5 separate regions of the Homo sapiens genome follow, and regions 1, 3, 4 and 5 are each linked to region 2. Evidence: promoter capture Hi-C in 16 types of primary human blood cells and fetal thymus (Javierre and others, 2016). All regions are on one chromosome and are shown on one strand. The core of a region is centred on a gene start or on the middle of the fragment in contact, and the rest is flanking DNA. Distances in the headings are between cores, read along the strand shown.

The links. Contacts are between HindIII fragments. The CHiCAGO score rates a contact against its expected background, and 5 or more counts as called.
Region 1: a contact is called between a fragment that was not itself captured here and the fragment with the promoter of RTKN in region 2, in 1 of 17 cell types (naive CD4 T cells). The highest score is 5.7, in naive CD4 T cells.
Region 3: a contact is called between a fragment that was not itself captured here and the fragment with the promoter of RTKN in region 2, in 1 of 17 cell types (neutrophils). The highest score is 5.9, in neutrophils.
Region 4: a contact is called between a fragment that was not itself captured here and the fragment with the promoter of RTKN in region 2, in 7 of 17 cell types (naive CD4 T cells, megakaryocytes, activated CD4 T cells and 4 more). The highest score is 6.7, in naive CD4 T cells.
Region 5: a contact is called between a fragment that was not itself captured here and the fragment with the promoter of RTKN in region 2, in 8 of 17 cell types (total B cells, naive B cells, naive CD4 T cells and 5 more). The highest score is 7.6, in total B cells.

What each region holds. Positions count from the first base shown.
Region 1 is chr2:74,222,965-74,225,664 of GRCh38, reverse strand. It overlaps SLC4A5 (solute carrier family 4 member 5), which reads left to right. Exons shown (of 31, transcript NM_133478.3): 28 at 670-825. Among named protein-coding and RNA genes, the nearest start is that of MTHFD2, 26 kb to the right of the region's middle. The HindIII fragment of the contact is 4,313 bases long and covers 1-2,700 here.
Region 2 is chr2:74,440,585-74,443,284 of GRCh38, reverse strand. RTKN (rhotekin) reads left to right here and starts at 1,348. Exons shown (of 12, transcript NM_001015055.2): 1 at 1,348-1,579. The coding sequence starts at 1,469. RefSeq lists silencers at 1,258-1,337, 1,648-1,707, 2,423-2,700. The HindIII fragment of the contact is 8,784 bases long and covers 1-2,700 here.
Region 3 is chr2:74,615,071-74,617,770 of GRCh38, reverse strand. It overlaps M1AP (meiosis 1 associated protein), which reads left to right. Exons shown (of 11, transcript NM_001321739.2): 3 at 2,622-2,700. Among named protein-coding and RNA genes, the nearest start is that of M1AP, 32 kb to the left of the region's middle. The HindIII fragment of the contact is 1,812 bases long and covers 421-2,232 here.
Region 4 is chr2:74,245,774-74,248,473 of GRCh38, reverse strand. It overlaps SLC4A5 (solute carrier family 4 member 5), which reads left to right. Exons shown (of 31, transcript NM_133478.3): 18 at 1-121; 19 at 1,167-1,438. Among named protein-coding and RNA genes, the nearest start is that of MTHFD2, 49 kb to the right of the region's middle. The HindIII fragment of the contact is 6,305 bases long and covers 1-2,700 here.
Region 5 is chr2:74,586,563-74,589,262 of GRCh38, reverse strand. All of the region lies in intron 4 of M1AP (meiosis 1 associated protein), which reads left to right. Among named protein-coding and RNA genes, the nearest start is that of DOK1, 33 kb to the right of the region's middle. The HindIII fragment of the contact is 950 bases long and covers 797-1,746 here.

The DNA.
Region 1 (2,700 bases), core at 98-2,597, 220 kb after region 2:
AAGCCCTCCAGGTCCTGGTGCATGCTCAAGTTTGAGAGCCACTAATTTATGTATTTATTTTATTTGTTTGAGATGGAGTCTTGCTCTGTCGCCCAGGATGGAATGCAGTGGCACAATCTTGGCTCACTGCAACCTCCGCCTCCCGGTTTCTAGCGATTCTTCTGCCTCAGTCTCCTGAGCAGCTGGGACTACAGGCACCCACCACCATGCCTGGCTAACTTTTGTACTTTTAGTAGGGACAGGGTTTCACCATGTTGGCCAGGCTGGTCTTAAACTCCTGACCTCAGGCGATCTGCCCACCTCGGCCTCCCAAAGTGCTGGGATTACAGGTGTGAGCCACCACGCCTGGCTGAGAACCACTAATTTAAAGAATAACTGTAGTTCTCCAGCCCATGGCCTTTCTGAGGCTCCCCACTTCGGCTGTCACAGGCTCCGTCCCTCTTGGTCACTGGTAGGCATGGTCACTCACCTGAGGGGCCAGACAAGAGGAACTACGGTGGAGGGAAAGTGAATAATGGCTTATGGGAGCTTCGAGACGGCTCCAAAGACACCACAAAAAGTCCCTGAACTCAGCCGACTGAGGGAGAAAAAAATCTATGCCTGAGTTTGGGCATTGAGACCACAGTTTTCTCCAAATTCTCACAAAACTTTAGTCTCTCTCCACCACAGATCCTGGGCCTCATCATCGTTCGAAGGCTTCTGGATTTCATCTTTTCCCAGCACGACCTGGCCTGGATTGACAACATCCTCCCAGAGAAGGAAAAAAAGGAGACAGACAAGAAGAGGAAGAGAAAAAAAGGGGCCCACGAGGACTGTGATGAGGAGGTGGGGAAGATGTGAGGCCGGGGCACAGAGGAGAAATTGAGAGACCTTCTCTCCACTTTTGCCAGGGACAGGGAGAGGGCGGCTTCTTGGGTGGCCTGCAGCAGTGCCTCGGCCCAGTCCAGGATGGGCTGGGGCATCTGCTTGTCTTGGTCTGGGGTGTTGAGGGCTCTTCTGTTTATGTGAATATCCTCAGGGTGGGCCAGAGTGAATGAGACTCCCTGTCCAGGGAAAAGGTGACTGGCCATGCCCACTCTTTCCATCACTGTGGGCTTTACGGCCGTGATCACAGCAAGCGGGTTCCTGTGGGAAGGGCCAGGAGGCAGCTCCAGCATGGAAGGAGGTTATGAAGACTGACCTCCAAAGAGTGGAGCAGACTTGGGGAGAGGTGTCTAATGGGGCCTTATAAGTAGACTGGACTCCAGACAGGCAGGAGGGGCTGGGAACAAGTTTTGCTTGCGCCTTTGCCTAGGGTATTGAGGACAAAGATGGGGAAAGAGGCAGGTATCCTCGCCAAAAGGAGACTGGCTACATTTCCCAGATGTCTGGGACAACATGGTTGCCCCATCTGCCCCTCTTCTCCCATGGTCCCTTCCCATTTCATCCCCAAAACACTCAGGGAGTCAACAGACAAGGGGCCAGTCCAGAAATTATAGTGAATCACAAAACATGAGGCAGAAAGATTCTTAATTCATGTGTTCATTACTTATGATGAAACTGTCCCCACAAAAGGAAGTGACTTACCCAAAATGGACATGTAGCTACATTTCTAAGAAGGAATTAAGAAAATAATTCCTGACTTTGCTGGTTTCTGATATGCTAAGCTGCCTGTGCCATCTCCTAATGCTGTGCTTGGTTCCCAATCTCCCAATTTGACCCAAACTCACGTCCCTGCATCCACCCTGTCCTGTTCTCGTGATTTTGCCTTGTGCAGATGAAACCTGTTCAAGGCAAATCCCTTCTGACTGGCTGGTGGTGATTAAACCATCTTCTGATCAGTCAGAACTCCCCTGGTCCTTAATTACTGTGCTCTTCCAGGAAGAGTCCCATAATGCATGTGTTTGTAGATGATTTGTAAAGGTGGGTTCTGAAAACAAAGAAACAGAGACTAAGTGCCTTTTAAAGACAAATACTTCTTTTGTTGATACTTTCAATAAATATCTGAGTGGCTACCACATGCCAAGAACTATTACAGGGTTGGGAAAAAGAATCTCTGAATTATGATATATCAATGGAAAAACAGGATTCAATTTATACAAATTCATTTTACTTGTCTTATAGCAACACAGTTGTTGTGTGAGGTTCATTCCCAAGTGACTGGTTGCTGTGACAGATAAAACTGTTTTGATGAGTAACATTCCTGGAAGAGTTCCGGTCTGTCTGATGGTGTGTATAGGACAGCAGGCTAACTGTGCCCATTCCCCTTCAGTGGACCCCAGGGTATTTGCAGCATCCCCTAACTGTTTAGAGGTGAACAGAATGGTGGTTTGCAATGTTCATGCATGCATTTTCCATCTTGGCAAGAAAGCCAAGTTGTTGGCCACGCGCGGTGGCTCACATCTGTAATCCCAGCACTTTGGGAGGCCGAGGCAGGGGGGATCACAAGGTCAGGAGTTCAAGACCAGCCTGGCCAGCATGGTGAAACCCCATCTCTACTAAAAATACAAAAAATTAGCCAGGTATGGGGGTGCACGCCTGTAATCCCAGCTACTTGGGAGGCTGAGGCAGGAGAATCACTTGAACCCAGGAGGCAGAGGTTACAGTGAGCCGAGATCGCACCACTGCACTCCAGCCTGGGCAGTAGAGCGAGACTCTGTCTCAAAAAAAAAAAAAAAGAAAGCCAAATTGTTGTGTTGGTGTTTATCCTCTTTTCCCACT
Region 2 (2,700 bases), core at 99-2,598:
AATAAATAAATAAATAAATAAAAATAAAAAATTATACATATTTGTAATGCTTTTTAAGAGATGGGGTCCCACTATGTTGCCCAGGCTGGACTTGAACTTTCGGGCTCAAGCAATCCTCCCACCTTAGCCTCCCGAGTAGCTGGGACTACAGGTGTGCACCACCATGCCAGGCCAATTTGTGTGTGTGTGTGCGTGTGTGTGTGTGTTTTGTTGAGACAGGGTTTCATGTTGCCCAGGCTGGTCTCCAACTCCTGAGCTCAAGAGCGATCAGTCCCCCTTGGCCTCCCAAAGTGCTAGGATTACAGGCTTGAGCCACTGCACCCAGCCATCTTTTTTTTAGACGTAGTTTCGCTCTTGTTTCCAAGGGTGGAGTGCAATGGTGGGGTCTCAGCTCACCACAACCTCTGCTTCCCGGGTTTAAGCGATTCTCCTGCCTCAGCCTCTCAAGTAGTTGGGATTACCGGCATGTGCCACCATGGCCGGCTAAATTTTGTATTTTTAGTAGAGATGGGGTTTCTCCATGTTGGTCAGGCTGGTCTCGAACTCCCAACCTCAGGTGATCCACCCTCCTAGGCCTCCCAAAGTGCTGCGATTACAGGCGTGAGCCACCGCGCGCAGCTGCTCTTTATGACTGCAAATATGGGGCACTTGCCTTGTGCCAGGCACTATGCTGGGCATTTTACCCTCATTCTTATAGGTAATCCTCATAGCAACTTGAGGAGTGGAGATAATTACAGTATTCCCACTGAACAAATGAGAAAACTGAAGCTCAGAAAGGCCAGTGACTGGACCAAGTTAATGATTGCACGGTTAGTTAGTGACAGAGCTGGGGTTTCACGACGTGTTTAAGCACCGCCCCATCAGTTGTGGCCACTAGGCTTAGGCGGATAGCCTCGCAGAGGAGCCTAGGTGGGGAGGGGGACGAAGAAGGAACATTTGGGACTGTGGGATGTTGAAATGGTCTCTTCGGAGGCTGCCGGGATTGAAACTGGGCAAGGTCCCAGGGCCCGAGTAGAGCCAGAGCGTGCTACGCGGCGATCCCTGAGCCACGGGGTTTTCAGCGCCCGGGAAGCCAGGCTTGCCAGGTTGGGGCGGCTGGCGGGGCAGGGCTTCTCGGTCCGTCCCAAGTCCAGGTAGGCGCTCGCGACCCGCGCGGGCAGGGAGAACGCGCTCCCACAGTGCTCGCGAGGTGCAGTGCGCCCCTGGGGGCTCCGGGGCCGTCGGGCCAGGTCGGCTTGGCGCCCAGGGACTGGCCGGACGGGCTGGGCCTTTGGCGGGGGTGGAAGAGGAGGTTGCCGCGCCCTGCCCGGCCCAGGTGTCGTCTCCGGGGGCGGGGTTTGGAGCCCCGCAGCGGGAGATTCCCGGCCGGACTGGCGGACGAGCGTCGAGAGACAGAAGCCGAGGAGAGGAGGCTAAGCCGGGCGGCGCGGGGAGCGCACTGAGCAGGCAAAGTCGCAGGGCCGCCAGCATGTTCTCCCGAAACCACCGGAGCCGGGTCACCGTGGCCAGGGGCTCCGCCCTGGAGATGGAGTTCAAACGCGGCCGCTTCCGACTCAGCCTCTTCAGCGACCTGCCCGAGGTGAGAGACTCGCGTCCCTGCCTTCCCCTTCCGCGGCTCCCGGGGGCAGCCCCAGCCACCTCGGCCTCCTTCCCTCGCCCGCGTGCACGCCGAGGGGCGGAGACGCACGGTCTGGGTACAAACCCGACGGAGTTGTTGACTTAAAAAGTAAGGTGTGGACGGTCTGCATTTTCATCGGATCCATGCTGCCCATTCCGCGGCCTGGTTAGGATTATCTGCCTGAGCCTGGAAAAAGCCCGGGTTGGTCTCAATTTGTAGGGCCCCAGCTCGACTCCTAAAATGTGCCTGAACCCCAAAATGTCTTGGGCATCCCCGGGCCAAGGGCGGTGGGCAGCTAGGCGGGCCCCAAGCGCTCGGACTCTTGGCCTGGGCTCCCGCTTGTTCCCCAGTCGCCAGCCCCATCCCACAACCTGTCGCAGCCATCTGGGCCAGCCTCTGTCATCAACCCCGACTTTAGGCCGGGGCCGCTCGCTTCCCCGAAGCCCAATTCAAAGGCTCCTCTATGCCCCTGCAGGGCTTTTAACTCCTTGGGGTTACTTCCCACACGCAAAATTTCCGCCTCCTTTTCTGGGGCCTAAGAGGAGTCCAGCCCCTAGGCTGAGCGTTTCCCCCGTCCGCCGTCCACGCGTTAACCTGTTGGATCCCCACCTGTAACGCCCTAAGGGCTAGGGCGGGGCTGAAGGTGTGTGGTTGAGCGGGGACTGAGAGGGCGAATAGCTACCCCGAAGACTCTTCTGTCCCCAAGGTCAGACTCACACTCGCCCAAGGAGAGCCCAGTTCCAAGCCTTCCCTTCCGGGTCTGGAAAGGGTTAAGTGAGGTGGGCCTTCCTTCCGCCCCCTCTACCTCCCGGCTGGGATTCCAGGCCTGGCTTCTGCCCTTTCCCTCCAGCCTGCCCAGAACAAAGAGGCTCTTTCACACCCTTGTCCCGGCGTCCCGGGCCTTCTCTGACTCAGAAGCTAGTGGACCTGGGGAGAGGGGGCCTTTGTCGCGTCCCCTTGCCCCCAAGCGACTGGGCCCGAGGAACCCGCGTGGGGCCAGCGTGGGGGAGTAAGGGGCGAGGCCCGGGACCAGGGGGAGGGGCCTGTGAGCTGGGGCCGCCCCTGGGATTAGCCCGGCCTTC
Region 3 (2,700 bases), core at 77-2,576, 170 kb before region 2:
TGCTTATTTTAAAACATGAGAAGGGCACAAAATGGAATAATTGCTTATTTTTTCCCAGACACTCTTAAAACAAATGGTATGAATTTTTTTAACTTTTATTTTAAGTTCAAGGGTGCATGTGCAGGTACATAAGTAAACTTGTGTCATGGGGGTTTGTTGTACAGATTATTTCATCATCCAGGTATTAAGCCTACTACCCATTAGTTATTTTTTCTGATCCTCTCCCTCCTCCCACACTCCACCCTCTGACAGGCCCCAGTGTGTGTTGTCCCTTTTTATGTGTCCATGTGTTCTCATCATTTAGCTCGCACTTATAAGTCAGAACATGCAGTATTTGGTTTTCTGTTCCTGCGTTAGCTTGGAATTTTTATTGTTAAATCCATAGTAATATGTCATCACAATTGTAGACACAAACAAGCTTAGTCCGAAGTTGTGGCTGGTTCTGGGTGTCATCTAATGACACCCTATATGACATCACCAGGCTGGACTGCCCTGATCACTGAGAAGTAAGGCTTAGATTCCAGCTATTTTGAATCATTCTGTGTCTGTCCTATAGTTGTAGTACAACTGCAGACACATAATTAGAACAATGGTGTAGCATTTTTGTATATAAAATGTAATAGAATGAATTTGTGACATCAAAATGCCTTGTAGGGTATCACATTTAGTCTTTTAAAATACCAAGGTGAGGCTTAAAATTTTTAGTACATATTCTCAAATTGGAGTTAAGTTACATTTCTTTTATAGCCTTTTGGGTATCTGGTCAAGAGAAAACAAGATTTTTCTCTGTTTATAATGATGCAATAAACTCAACCCATGTTGGCCACCAAATAAATAAAATAGGAATAAAAATTGATACTGAATGTTGTGTCATTCGATCAGTAATTATTTTATTTATTCACACAAACCTGAGCTAATTGAAAGAAGAGCCCAGCTTGTCCATGCCATTAAGAGGAATATTTCCAATTATTAAGAGAAACATTTCCAATTAAAGCTATGCTTAATGCCAATAATTATTTCTCAAAATTTGTATATACATGTTGTTTTAATAAATTGTATATGAATGATAATTCTAATAATAACTCAATCTAGAGTGCCCCTTAGAGCCTATGCTCATAGGAAACTTAGAACTCTTGCAAAATATAGCTGTTTTAGATGCAGAGAAGTATGATGGGATGATCAATAAAAGGTTGCCAAGCATAAAAATTCTTTTACATTATGATAAAACTCTCAGGGAAAGTGAAATGGAAATATGAGTTCAAGGAGAAAAAGGAACAATCTAAATTTCTATCTCTTGGGAAAAAAAGAGCTTGTTCATGTACTTTTAACACTGAATAATGGTGAGTATCAAATCACCATGGCATTTAGATTCAATTGGACTGTTTTGAAGAGTTATATTATAGTTTTATTTTTAAATGTTGATATTTAAAATATGCAGGAAGTTACATCGTTAGCAACCACTTATAAAGTTGGAATTTTAAAATATAGATGTTCACTTAAAAATGCATAAGGGGGTACATTGTTTCTCAGATTCTTTTAGTGGGTACATGAGAAGAAATGCTTAAAGCCTACTAGGCTACACCTGTGGTGTGATTTCTTCTAATTTCTTTCTCGGATAGTTTTCTTATTTTCCTTTCTAGATTACAAGTTTTCTTTGTGTAAGAATTATATGCAATTCCTTGTGTTTTCACCCCAAAGACTTGGGGAGAGAAGAATATATCAACTGTGGAGCTAAGCCCAGGAAGGTGTTGACTTAAGCAGTCTTTGTATTCTGGCAGGTTTACAGCTCATGCTCATGGATTTTATGTGCATTACAGATATCACTCAGTTCTGCTCTATGGTCAGGAAGGTGTCCCCATCCCAAAATATAATTCTTCCCCACCCCCCACCTGCTATTGATGCATGGAATCCCTTCAAATGATGTCACAAATCTTCAGTCCACATTTATCAAAATGCATATATCCTTAGGAGAAGTAACATTGACCTAGTATCAGATTAAATTAGTTGACTCCTAAGAGCAAGTTTTTATAAAGGTAGATGAGGAGAACCAAAAGGTCGCTTGTCTCGGTTTAACATGTTGGCTCCTTAAGCTGACTGCAGACTAACCCAAATATCTCTTCTTTACTGAAGTTATCCTAAAGAGCGTATTAGATAGGACGTATGAATTCTGAAGTGATCAACCACATCAAAATTCTCACTTCTGGGAAAACCTCATTTTTAAGTAGAGAAGCTTTTGGTGCCTAGACTGACTAAGAAATGAAGATGATGTCTAAGGTGAACACTGTCTGGCCTCCAGTTTGCAGGTCACCCCAAAGTAAAACTAAGCAGTCACACAACTGGATTTCCCTTTGTGTGAGTGAATGAGTTAAAACACTTCCTTTCATGTTTCTGGTAACTCTAAGTAATCAAAACCTTTATGGCTGCAAATTTTCCTTCTGCTAGTGTAGGGAAGATTTTGGTGCAGTGGCTAGAACACAATAGGAATTCAGTAGATGTTGGTCAAATAAATTTTCAGGAAGGGAAGGAACTTCTGAGGAATTATTTATAATAAATTTAGACTGCCAATTAATCTGAAACCTGGTCCCTAAAGACTTGTGTCTTTGATTCGTTTTTCTCTGCAGCAAGTGAAAGGGAACTTTGCTAGGTTGCAGACCTGCATCTCAGAACTCCGCATGTTACAGAGAGAAGGGTGTTTCAGAT
Region 4 (2,700 bases), core at 102-2,601, 190 kb after region 2:
GCTTCCTGGGCACTGCCATGGCTGGCTCCTTGTTCTGCCTCTTCTCGGGACAGCCTCTCATCATTCTCAGCAGCACGGGGCCCATCCTCATCTTTGAGAAGCTCCTCTTCGACTTCAGCAAGTAGGTGTCCCTTGGTGGCCCCCAGTGCCTGCTCTCGCATTTGGGGCAGTATGCTGGGGCTAGGGCAGGGGAATAGGTCCCAAGGGTAGGTGGTGGTGCGGTGGTGCCAAAGCCATCTTTAACTATGGGAAGGGCTACCAGGTGGCCCCTCCTGACTCCTGCCAGCTACCTGCCTTTAAGACATCTTAGTGCATATTGGCACAGCCCATAGGGACCAGCCACGACAAGAGGAGAAAATTCACACCACTCAGTTTGTGAGCAATGGTGACTTGATAGGCAGTATAGTGTATGAAGTCTTGGGCTGAAGGTCAGAAGGTTACACCCAGACCCAGGCAGCTCCCATCACTACTCCAGGCTCAGTTGCCTCCTCTACAACATGAGGGTTTGGACCAGACCATTTCCAAGGGCTGCTCCAACCCTGTTCTTCCAAAATTCCCTGTTTTTCACTCACTCTGGTGTCTGTTACCAACTGTGAGCACTGAGATGTCTTGGCACCTTCCTGCCTCCTCCATAAGATCTTTAAAAAAAATTTTTTTTTGGCCGGGCGTGGTGGCTCACACCTGCAATCCCAGCACTTTGGGAGGCTGGGGCGGGCGGATCACCTGAGGTCAGGAATTTGAGACCAGCCTGGCCAACATGGTAAAACCCCGTCTCTACTAAAAATACAAAAATCAGCCAGGCGTGGCGGCGGGTGCCTGTAATCCCAGCTACTTAGGAGGCTGAGGCAGGAGAATCACTTGAACCAGGGAGGCAGAGGTTGCAGTGAGCCAAGATCACGCCATTGCAGTCCAGACTGGGTGACAGAGAGAGACTCTTTCTCAAAAAAAAAAAAAAGTTCTTATAAAGATGAACACTGGACCCCCATGAAATCTCAAAGATCAGACAACTCTGCCCAAGAATTGTCCCTGTCCCCAGTCTTTCACAGTCCCTGGGAGGGCATCAGTGCCACAGGAGGACAGATAAGCCACTTAAGGATGAGTCTGAGGAGTCAAGCACAGCCAGGAGCCCTGGGCTGGAGGCCCCTCACCTCCCCTCTGCCTTCCAGAGGCAATGGCCTGGACTACATGGAGTTCCGCCTCTGGATTGGCCTACACTCAGCTGTCCAGTGCCTTATCCTAGTGGCCACAGATGCCAGCTTTATCATCAAATATATCACCCGCTTCACCGAGGAGGGCTTCTCCACCCTTATCAGCTTCATCTTCATCTACGATGCCATCAAGAAGATGATCGGTGCCTTCAAGTACTACCCTATCAATATGGACTTCAAGCCAAACTTCATCACTACCTACAAGTGCGAGTGTGTCGCCCCTGACACAGGTGACCGGTAACCCCAGACATGCCGTGGGCCCTCACCTACCCCACCGGCCCCCTGATCCTTCACCACAGCTCTCTACTTCTACTGCTGGGGAGGGGCCATTCAGCCAAGGGCTTACAGTTCCAAGAGAGCAAATACAGGGTCTTGAACCCAGTGTTTGGAAGGAAACCAAGGGGACAGTAGCTCTAATAAGAGTCACAGGGTTGTCATCAGGAGGGCACAGGGATATCCTAGGAAGGAGTAAGGCATGCTTTGCCTCAGTGTGGGGTAATGTGGAGGCCACACCTATCAGGAGTGCCACTCAGGGGTTCCTGCTGCAGGCCAGAGATAGAACTGATGGTGCCTGAAGTCCCGCCCAGCTCCATCAAGTCATGATACGATGAGCTCTCCCCAAGACAGAGCTGCCCGTGTGGCCACATACCGTGTAAGGTGAGACCACACCTGAGGGATGGACATCCACACAGATGGAAACATGTCCAGAGTGGAGGCTCTGTCATCCATGCCATCTGAGAACAGTTGGAGAACCGGGGCTTATTCAGCCTCTTATGAATATGAGAGTTATGAGAGAAGGACTGTCATGTCACAAAGGAGCTGTGTTCACCCTCTGAAACCACAGGATGTAGAGCTGAATGAGGAACAGGGAGCAGAAGCTCCAGGAAGCCAGATGCTGGCTGAATTTAGGAAAGAACCTACAATGGTGGGCGTTAACCACCATGGGAGTTCTCGGCCCCCTTGGTTGGTAGCAAGTTACTTGGACACTCTCTGGATGTCCATCTGCCAAGGATATTGTAAAAAGGATCCCTGTACAGATGGGGTCAACCTGGTAACACCCAGTGCCACTCCTGTGGAGTTACTTTCTGGCCAAAACACCTGTCATCTGTAAATTAGGGCTTCCCATAGCATCTGAGCCTCCTCCATAGTCATGATCATGCCCCTAAGAGCTTTCAGTGGGATGTGCCCAGAGTGCCCAGGGTGCTGCAGAGCAGGAGCAGGAGGTCTATGCACACATCTCCAAGCACCAAGGCTGGACTCACAGAGAGCAAACTGAGGTCCAGAGACCACCCAAGGTCATGCCAAGCCTCAGTTTCCCTGGCTGTAAAAGAGGGGTCTCAATGCGGGCCCTGGTGGTCTCCTGGGACTCCTGTGGGGTTTCCAAATCTATACCCCGATTGAGTTGAAGGAAATAAGTGGATAGTGGGTTCAGCCCCTTAATACATTACTACGGGTAAAAAAAATCATAAGTCAATCGAAAATATTTGCTGCA
Region 5 (2,700 bases), core at 22-2,521, 150 kb before region 2:
TAATCCCCCAACACAAAAAGCTCATTCCCATCTCAAGACCTTTGAACTTGCTCATCTCTCTATAAGAAACAATCTTCGCACAAATGTTTTTATGACTCACTTCACGTCATTCAAGTTTCTGCCCAACTGTCAGCTTCTTAAAGAATACTTCCCTGGCCAGCCAAGCTAAAACTTCACATGCATGCACGCGCGCGCGTGCACACACACACGCCCCTTTATTTTTCTTCATAGTATCTATCATCTGAAATTGTATTCTGTTTTATTTGCTTGCTTATTATCTGTTCTCTCACTAGAATGTAAGCCACGAAAGTAGGCAATTTGTCTCTTTTCTTGATGACACCAATAAGTGCCTAGCTCATAAAAGACAGTAAACTAATAAGTGCTTGAATGACTAAATAAATGAATGACTAAGCAAATGAATGAATGACAACAGTTCTCTCTCTCTGAGAAGAGTTCTGGGATATAAATTTTCTCTATCTCATTACAGTTATGGTGATGTTTTGACCCTCTTACAGACTGGGGCTCCAGGAAGATAGTCACCACTAGGTCCATTCCTGCAGTCACCTCTCTGCCCTGAGTTCACATGTTGATAACCACTACCACCACCCCTGCCAACTCTTTTCAAGGGGCTTCTCCTTTTTCCTAGGGTCCAAGCATCACTTCCACAAATGAGGCAAATGAGCTTAGAAAGACAAGCTTGACTGCCTCACCGTTGTAAGCTGTTAGATTATTCTCATGTTGTGTTGATTTAAAGACAATGGTTGGATGATGCTGCACTGCTGTTCCTGACTAAGCTTTATCTGCTGTGATTACTTACCCTGGTTGTTAACATCCTATAGCTATCCTGTATTCAGAGAGTAGACAGCTAATTGTAAACCAACCCAGGCAGGCTAAGATACTGTGACTCTATAGTCTCTGTAGTGGTTCTTGACCTTTTTGGGGTCATAGAGCTCTTTTGAGAATCTGATAAAAGCTAGGGGCTTTCCCCCTTCCCCCACCCCACCAAAATACATCTATGCATGTACAGATGAATTGTATATAATTTCAAGGGGTTCTCAGAATGTCTGAAGCCCATCCATGACACCCAAGTACAGGCCTCATGAATGTCATTCGGAAAGGAACAGGTCAGGCCTAGAGGTTAGGGCCCTGTGAGACGGGGGAAGATGTGGAGGACTGGGCAAGAGCACCTTTTCCTGGGCCTCTACTTTCCTGGGCCTCTATATTTTATGTGAAGAGAGAAATACAGACATTGTATATGCACGTATGTATGTTAAAGTCTCCTATTTTAAACACACTTTAATTTTATAACCCTATTTTAAGGTTTCTTCTGAGAGGGTCTACTTCAGGTATTACCTAATCTTCAGTCATTTGGCTTTCTTAGTTTTTTCCCATTGTGGCCGCAGGAGGGCAGGGTAAGTTCAAAAACAATGTGAATGCTGGCTGCAGCTTGGGCTGCAGTGAACCAGGCCTTCCTCACTGCTTTAACTATCCAAACACTAAGGGCCACCGTTTCACTCCTGTAACCTTTCCATTTCATGCCATTGGTGTGACCCGTTCATCTAGTGCATGGGTACCCTGCTCCCCAGCCAGTGAGGGAGCTGTTTTTCAACGTCTGAGAAGTCTCCTCCCCGATCCCCAGATTTAGCACATTTAGTCGTATTTGTGAAGAACACAATACATACTAGTTGTTGGTGTTCAATGTATGGTAGTCGGGGGTAGAAAGCAGTGACCAAGGGAAAAAAAGCTTTAAAAAAGGAAAACATATGGCCAGGCGTGGTAGCTCACACCTGTAATCCCAGCACTCTGGGAGGCCAAGGCAGGTGGATCACGAGGTCAGGAGATCGAGACCATCCTGGCTAACACGGTGAAGCCCCATCTCTACTAAAAATACAAAAAATTAGCAAAGCATGGCAGCAGGCGCCTGTAGTCCCAGCTACTCGGGAGGCTGAGGCAGGAGAATGGCGTGAACCCGGGAGGTGGAGCTTGCAGTGAGCCGAGATCGCGCCACTGCACTCCAGCCTGGGGGACAGAGCGAGACTCCGTCTCAAAAGAAAAAAGAAAAAAAAAAAAGGAAAATATATTATTATCCTAAAAGAGTTCATTTTGTGGATGAGAGAAAAGGAAGAAAATTATATTTGTTGGACCTACTGGATGCCATTTATAGATAATCATCTCGCTTTGTAGTGCTTTACTAAGAAATATGTTGTACTATTCCACTTCGCCCAAAATCACATAGCTAACAAATTTTTTTTTTTTTTTTGAAATGGAGTTTCGCTCTTGTTGCCCAGGCTAGTGTGCAATGGCGCGATCTCAGTTCACTGCAACCTCCACCTCCCAGGTTCAAGCGATTCTCCTGCCTCAGCCTCCCAAGTAGCTGGGATTACAGGCATGCACCACCACACCTGGCTAATTTTTTGTATTTTTAGTGGAGACCGGGTTTCTCCATGTTGGTCAGGCTGGTCTCAAACTCCCGACTTTAGGTGATCTGCCCGCCTCAGCCTCCCAAAGTGCTGGGATTACAGGCGTGAGCCACCGTGCCCGGCTGCTAACAACTTTTAATTCTCAAGTCAAACCCTGGTCTTTCCATTAAGCCTTTCATAAACTCAGGAAAAGAGAAGAAAATCCTTTAAAAAAAAATAAATCAGCAGTGCGATTAATATTGCCCAAATGAAGCCCACAGATACCCAGGGATGGCAATTA